2 separate regions of the Homo sapiens genome follow, and region 2 is linked to region 1. Evidence: promoter capture Hi-C in human tissues and cell types (Jung and others, 2019). All regions are on one chromosome and are shown on one strand. The core of a region is centred on a gene start or on the middle of the fragment in contact, and the rest is flanking DNA. Distances in the headings are between cores, read along the strand shown.

The links. Contacts are between HindIII fragments. The study calls those that stand out against the background at their distance.
Region 2: a fragment that was not itself captured here is called in contact with the fragment with the promoter of BARX1 in region 1 in 1 of the 25 tissues and cell types used here (lymphoblastoid cells).

What each region holds. Positions count from the first base shown.
Region 1 is chr9:93,953,737-93,957,705 of GRCh38, reverse strand. BARX1 (BARX homeobox 1) reads left to right here and starts at 2,351. Exons shown (of 4, transcript NM_021570.4): 1 at 2,351-2,782. The coding sequence starts at 2,560. It overlaps BARX1-DT (BARX1 divergent transcript), which reads right to left and starts at 1,872. Exons shown (of 2, transcript NR_144455.1): 1 at 838-1,872; 2 at 1-193. It overlaps LOC124902216 (a long non-coding RNA gene), which reads right to left and starts at 2,180. Exons shown (of 3, transcript XR_007061672.1): 1 at 2,066-2,180. RefSeq lists enhancers at 1,295-1,825, 1,826-2,357, 3,769-3,969. The HindIII fragment of the contact is 32,678 bases long and covers 1-3,969 here.
Region 2 is chr9:93,805,139-93,808,854 of GRCh38, reverse strand. It overlaps LOC101928014 (a long non-coding RNA gene), which reads right to left and starts at 506. Exons shown (of 4, transcript NR_188449.1): 1 at 291-506. RefSeq lists an enhancer at 472-1,192. The HindIII fragment of the contact is 8,042 bases long and covers 1-3,716 here.

The sequences.
Region 1 (3,969 bases), core at 1,102-3,601:
GGCTATGCCCTTAGGGAGATGCAGAAGCCAGGGGGTGAGGAAGGGGCAGGGGCCCTGCTAAGATGGGGGAGGTGAGGGAGGAAGCCGGAAAAAGGAGCTTGATATGGCTCTGTACAAGAAGCAATAGTAAACCAGCCCTACTCACTGGAGTCCCTGCACCAGGGCTGCCTCTTGCTGGGCCTCAGTTTCCCATCTGAAAAAGGAGATGGTTGGATTGAGTGATACTATTGCACTCATCTAGGGAGGGTTCTCTGAGTCTACCCGTTGATAGGGGGAGCCTGACTGGGCTGCCCCAGCCTCCCAGGAGACACTGGCTTGTTTCTATTTGCCAGGTAGGATGTCAGTGGCTGCTTGGCCAACAGCGACAGGGCCAGCTTCCTGGTCTCTTGGTCTCTCAGGAGGAGGCCTGCTCAGTGTGGGATACTGTTGCTCTTAGTGCGCCCCTCTCCACCCTTTCCAAAGAACCATGTAGGCTCACAGCACCACTCTCCGAGGGAGTCCGAAGCAACTGGCGGCCATTGAGGCCACCTTCTTTCAGTCCCAATGGTAACTCTGAGTTCAGAAAGTCATGCAACAACTGGGAAGGAGAGACAGTGGGCTCTTGGGACTGGGATCTTACCAGAGTAAGGTAGTCTTTGTCCTCACTCCAGGCCCTACAGACAAAGGATCTGGGCCACTTCCTAGTCCCCACCTGCCCCCCACCCCCACTCCCGAGTCTGGGGCAGGTGCCAGGGACTGAGGGCCAGCCTGAAGGCCTCCCCACCAGCAGCTGGAGCTGGAGAAAGGACTTCAACTTGGGTGGGGGGCATGGCTGTAGGTGTGGTAAGCCCTAGTTACCTGAGGTAAAGACTGAGGCCCCACATGGAGCTCACAGAGGAAGTCCGGGTGGCCCAGGACACCCCCAGTGCATCAGGCGCTGACTGGCAATGGTGGATGGGGCTAGGAGGTAGGCCCTGTGATTCCTGAGAAGGAGGAGGGCAGATGCTCCTCCCCCAACCTCCTGGGGACACTTCTCCCCTCTTGCCTGGAGGAACTGTTTTCTCTCCAAACAGACCTAAGGGCTCCCAGGGTGCAGGACCCTCGGAGTGCAGGACCCCCTCACTGAGTTCTCACAGTCTCTCTGGAGCCAAAGGTCAGCATCTCCTCAGGACAGGTAAGGAAACAGGCCCAGAAAGGGTCAGTGGTTTCACCAGTAGTGGCAGGACCAAAGAGAGGAGTTCAGCGTAGGGTAGCTTTGGGGTTGTTCACTCCACGGCTTGGGCTTATACTCTTCTAAGGATGGAAAGAAAGATCTAGAGAAGGTACTGCCAACTTCCTCCACCATGTTGGAGCTTTTGAGGCTCCGCAATGGAGCCAGGTCCCACCAGAGTTTGGTCTTTACACTCTCAGAGCACCCACTGGCCCCCTGGCCCCAACTCCGCCCAGTAACAGTTTCTTGATGCCCCAAAGCTGGGAAAAGGCAAAGCTGCATCCTTCCCTTCTCCTCGAATCCTTTTCCTTTTCTAACTAGGGGGATGTAACCAGCCTACAGTCTTCTGGGGGCTGTCAAGGAGGATGTGTCCATGGATCACTTGAATTTCCAATTCAAGCAAATCTCGGCTGGAGAACATTTTTCTCTCAGGGCAGCCCGGAGAGAAATGAGGCCGTACATGGTAAACTGAGGCAGAGGTGGGAGGGGTGCACAGGTGCCGCTACCGCTCTGCCCCTTGCATCCCTGAACGCTGCCTCACCCTTGCCGGGTTGGCGGTGTTGAGCCCGGGACTGGAGGCTGCTTGAGACCACCTCCTTCCCAGCTGAGGAGCGCGGCCTTTGCCCCTCCTCCTCCCGACCTTTCCGGGGCTACCTAAAAGCCGATCAAGCCGCCGGTTTTCTAGCTGTTCCCATTTCTTTACCGCCCCCTTCCTCTGCCCCGCCTGCCTCTGTGCCCTCCGTCACGTCACAGCCCGCTGGCTCTCACGCCTCTTTTGGTCTCTCTGCGCACATCTCGGTGGCGTCTCTGGTGCCCTCACATCACTGTCTGGAATCTTGTTTGGCCCACGCCGTCTGCCTCTGCCCCTTCTCTCACCTGTGTCGTTTGATCCCTCCGACTCTCGTCTCTGGGGGTCTTGCCTCCCGAACTCTCCGGCTCTCTCCTTCCAGGGCGTGCGCTCCGCTCAGTCTCCCTCGGTCTCGGTCGGCCGGCCTCTTTCACGTGGCCCCCTCCTTTTTGGCCTCCCTTCCGCCTCCCTCCCTTCTGGGTCCCTCCCTCCGGCTCAGCCTAGGGGTTGGGGGCGGCGGCGCGGGGCGGGGCGGGGCGGGGCGGTGACGCGGGGCTGGCCGGGCAAGAGGCGCGGCGGCGTGGGGAGGGGGCGCAGTCCCGGGTTCGACCGGCCGAGCCCCGCGCGCCCCGCCCGCGCCCTGCGCCTCCGCCCGGCCGGCCGGCGGGGGAGGGGGCATGAGCCGGCGCCCGCGCGCCGCCCCGAGCTGCGGGCCGGCCTAGAGCCCCGCGCGGGCCCCGCGCCGGAGCCAAGCCGTCGCCGCCGCCGCCGCCAAACCGCGGGCGCAGCAGTGGGCGCCGCGATGCAGCGGCCGGGGGAGCCGGGCGCCGCGCGCTTCGGCCCGCCCGAGGGCTGCGCGGACCACCGGCCGCACCGCTATCGCAGCTTCATGATTGAGGAGATCCTCACGGAGCCACCCGGGCCCAAGGGCGCCGCGCCCGCAGCCGCCGCTGCCGCGGCGGGCGAGCTGCTGAAGTTCGGCGTGCAGGCGCTGCTGGCGGCGCGGCCCTTCCACAGCCACCTGGGTACGTGTGGCGGCCGCGGGGTCGCGGGCCGGGCTTGGCGGGAGACAGCGAGCTGAACCGCGGGGGCGCCCCGAGCCTCCTCCGGCATCGAAGCAGCCCCGGGAAGCTGCTCTGGGAGCGCAGGTTCTGGGACCGTCTCTCGGAGCCCTCCAGGCGGGAGGCGGAGGGTGCAAGCTCCAGGCCTCACAGAAACCAGGCCTCGTGCCCGCGGGCCGCCCGGGGAGGGTGTTCGCTCTTTCCTTCACTGCTTCCCTTCGGCCTCCAGCCCGGGGACCCCGAGTGAGCATCCCCAGTGCAGGCGCACTGCCAGGCTACGGACTCTCGTGGGTGGAAGCGACCTCAGGCCACGGGCGCCTGGGCTTCGCCGCAGAGGGATGGCCGGGAGTGGCCGCGGCTGCCCAACCCAGGGAAGTCGGACCTCTGGGGAGGAGGCCTGCGCTCCCGAGGGCTGGGTGCTGACGCGGGCCCAAGCCGGCCCGGAGTCCCCGGGAGCTCCAGCGGGCGAGGAACGCGGCCTTGGCCGCAGTGCGGACCTGCTTCGGCCTTGCCTTGGGGCCAGAGGCCTGACTGTGAGCAGCTGCCTGGCTGTCCCTTCTGGTTTCAGGTCGGCTGGGCCTCTGCAGGGCTTGAACGGCCTGCGCAGACCTTTTCAGCTTCTGCCCTTTCTTCTAATTTGGCGGGGCCTGCTCTGCCCTGATGGTGCTGTCTCCATCGCACTCCACCCTCGTCTTGTCTTTCCCTATCTCGCTTTCCAACCGTCTGCCGGTCGGCCTCCCTCGCTTCTCTCATTGGGGTCGGCCTGCCTCCCATCTCCCACCTTTTCCCTACGGGTCCTCTGCCCCACATTTACCTGCGCCTTGCCCTGCCCTTTCCGACTCCAGCCAGGCTAGGACTCGCACCTCAGTGACAGGCCTGTCGGGGAAGGGAGGCTCCTACGCTGTAGCCGGGACCCCAGCCCTTCAAGTCGCCTTCCCTGCACCCCCCCACCTCCTAGTCGGTGCTCCCTAGCCTGGAGACGGCAGGGCCAGCGCGCTCCTTCTAAGTCCAGCTGGGACTCGGCCATTCGGCTACCTTTCGTCTCCATCTGCTCTGTTGCTACTAATTCGTTTGAAGCGGGCACACAATCATTTTAGGACTGAAGAAAATGGAAACATCTGCATGGGGAAGCGTCTGAAAATAGAAAACGT
Region 2 (3,716 bases), core at 284-2,783, 150 kb after region 1:
CCCAATCCTCTATAAACTCTGCTGCCTTATCCTCTCCTTGTCCCCAACAGCCTGAGCTTGTAGAAGACCTGTGGGATGTGGCTGTGAGGTTGAGAGTGAGCCTTTCCCAAGGATATTGTAGCTGGAAACTGCTGCACCTGCAGCAAACCCTACCCCCCGACCCCGACTTCTCAGCCCAAACCCCACCCCCAACCCTGACTTCTCAGCCCAAACCCCATCCCCCTACCCTGACTTCTCAGCCCACAGCCAATCGCTCCCTCTGTCCTTTAACAGTGGAGCTGGGTTCATACCAGGCAGGTCACAAAGCCATCACCATGGTCCTTTCTTAGAAAGTCCTTGATGCTGAGAGCTCTGCTGCTTGGAGATAACAAATGGCAGTGGGTTCGTGTTAGGGCCATTGGGTCTGTCCTTGATGACACAGAGTGAGCAGACCTAACTTTTAAAAAGTGATAGGTCCATGAAATCCCATGACTAGGAGCTCCTGGGCCCGCTGGCCCTAAGAGCCTTCAGAGGGGAGGGTCAACAGATTGAGGCTGTGTTCATGCCCTGTGTCCTCACAGTGAGGTCCTGGCCAAGTGGCCTTGGCAACAGCAGAGCCCCATGCTGTCCACTAGATACTTTTACATCAAAGCCGGTGTCTCTGACTGTCAGGAGCCATCCAAGCCTCAGCTGAAGAGGCAATGTCTTGTTTATTTTAAATTTTGGATCGATAATGCAGTACCTGGTTCAAAATGTGAAAAATACCAAATGGCAAACAGTGAACAATCTCCATCCCATCCCCTGGTCCAGCCACCTTCTGTGGCTGTGGGGCAGTTGCTGTCCCTCTGGGCTTTAGTTTCTGAGTCTCTGAGATGAATTAGGCCCGTCCCTCACACTCATTCTAGAGGAACCCATGGACACTGCACTGAAGCCCCCAGCCCTGGAGCCTCCAGCACAGGCCAGCAGGGCCTCTGCCAGCTTTGGGGACTGGACGCTCGGCTCCAAGCAGCCATCACCACCCACCCACCCGCGGCCACGGGTCAGGTTTCCATCCGCCGTCATTAGGCAGATGTCAAACTGGAAGGGGCAGCAGTAATTTGGACAATTACAGCCGTTATTATTGCTTCCTCTTCTTAAACGGGGGCTAAATTACTCACTTAAACACAACCACCAGTCACTCCCCACAGGCGGAGGGGACAATGGTGGGGGAGGGGACACATGGGAGGGGAAGGGACAGCTGGCAGGGGAGGATTCAGAAACTCCAGCAGCCCATCTGTCTGTGACTGCCCTGTTTGAGCGCCTACTGTGTGACATCAGCATGTCTGTCCACACTGCCTGGGACTTGGTGGTATCATTGTCAGGGGAGGTGAAGACTGGTGCCCTGGGGGAGGGGGCGGTCATGCTGCCCTGCTGGTCACTGCAGGACCAGGCTGGAAGCAGGTTAGGGTTCCAAGTCTAGAGTGGCATTGCCCCCTCTGAAACCTCTACATGGTGTGAGCTGAGCATCTGCCCAGGGCAGGCTTAAGAGGGGCCAGGAAGCCTCAGGCTGGCCCAGGATGCCCACTGCCCAGGAGGAGATAAACCTGCAGCCGAGGCTCATTTCTCAGGGATCAGGCAGGCCAAGGTGGCTCTTCTGTGGATGTAGGCAGGCAGACCTGGGCACCTGGCTCCCTGGCTGAGTGACAAATGGGGACAAGGACCCTAGTGGGCACCATGCAGGGAGGGAAGGTAAGTCTAGGCCTATTCCACTTCTTAGAGCTAATCACATCCACACCCGAAAGTACAGACAAAAGTCACTCTAATGACAGGAAGCATTTATGTAGCACCTGCTATGTGTCCAGCACTCTGTTTATATATAGTAGCTAATTGAATCTTCAGAACAAAGCTTTGAGGTAGGCATTCTTATCACCCTCATTTTACAGAGGAGGCTGAGGTACAGAGAGCCTAATTAACTTACCAGGGGTCACACAGCACCTCAGGAGAGAGCTGACCCCCTTCCTAGAGCCATAGGATGAGCACCTTAACCTGCTCAGTTGCAGGCTGCTATGAAACAGAAGGAAACCTTGCAAGGTATTTCCTTTTAAAAAATTTTTAATGTATTTATTTATTTATTCTTAAAAAAATGGGATACATGTGCAGAATGTGCAGGTTTGTTACCCAGGTATACATGTGCCATGGTGGTTTGCTGCACCTATTGGTCCATCCTCTAAGTTTCCTCTCCTCACCCCCTACTCCCCAACAGGCCCTGATGTGTGTTGTTCTCCTGTCTGTGTCCATGTGTTCTTTTTTTTTTTTTTTTTTTTTTTGAGGCGGAGTCTTGCTCTGTCACCCAGGCTGCAGTGCAGTGGCGCGATCTCGGCTCACTGTAGGCTCCGCCTCCTGGGTTCATGCCATTCTCCTGCCTCAGCCTCCCGAGTATTCAACTCCCACTTATGAGTGAGAAAAGGCAGTGTTTGGTTTTCTGTTCCTGTGTTAGTTTTCTGAGGATGATGGCTTCTAGCTTCATCCATGTCCCTGCAAAGGACATGATCTTCCTTTTTATGGCTGCATAGTATTCCATGGTATGTATGTGCCACATTTTCTTTATCCAGTCTATCATTGATTTGGGTTGGTTCCATGTCTTTGCTATTGTAAACAGTGCTGCAGCAAACATACATGTGCATGTGTCTTTATAGTACAATGATTTATATTCCTTTGGGTATATACCCAGTCACGGGATTTCTGGGCCAAATGGTATTTCTGGTTCTAGATCCTTGAGGAATCGCCATACTGTTTTCCACAATGGTTGAACCAATTTACATTCCCACCAACAGTGTAAAAGCATTCCTATTTCTCCCTAGCCCAGCCAGCATCTATTGTTTCCTAACTTTTTAATAATCACCATTCTGACTGACGTGAGATGGTATCTCATTGTGGTCTTGATTTGCATTTCTCTGATGATCAGTGATGTTGAGCTCTTTTTAATGTTTGTTGGAGGCAATGTTTAATGGAGGCAAAGTGGAGGTCCCTGAGCTTCCAGGCCTGCATAAATGTCTTCCTTTGAGAAGTGTTTGTTCATATCCTTTGCCCACTTTTTGATGGGGTTGGTTTTTTTTTTCTTTTAAATATGTTTAAGTTCTTGTAAATTCTGAATATTAGGCCTTTGTCAGATGGGTACGTTGCAAAACCTTTCTCCCATTCTGTAGGTTGCCTGCTCACTCTGATGATACTTTCTTTCTTTAGTTTAGTTAGATCCCATTTGTCAATTTTGGCTATTGTTGCAATTGCTTTTGGCGTTTTTGTCATGAAGTCTTTGCACATGCCTATGTCCTGAAAGGTATTGCCTAGGTTTATAGGTTTTCTTCTAGGGTGCTTTATGGTTTGGGGTTTTACATTTAAATCTTTAATCCATCTTGAGTTAATTTTTGTATAAGGTGTAAGAAAGGGGTCCAGTTTCAGTTTTCTGCAAATGGCTAGCCAGTTTTCCCAGCACAATTTACTGAATAGGAGATCCTTTCTCCATTGCTTGTTTTTATCAGGTTTGTCAAAGATCAGATGGTTGTAGATGTGTGGTGTTATTTCTGAGGCATCCGTTCTGTTCCATTGGTCTACATATCTGTTTTGGTACCAGTACCATGCTGTTTTGGTTACTGTAGCCTTGTAGCATAGTTTGAAGTTAGGTAGTGTGATGCCTCCAGCTTTGCTGTTTTTGCTTAGGATTGTCTTGGCTATATGGGGTCTTCTTTGATTCCATATGA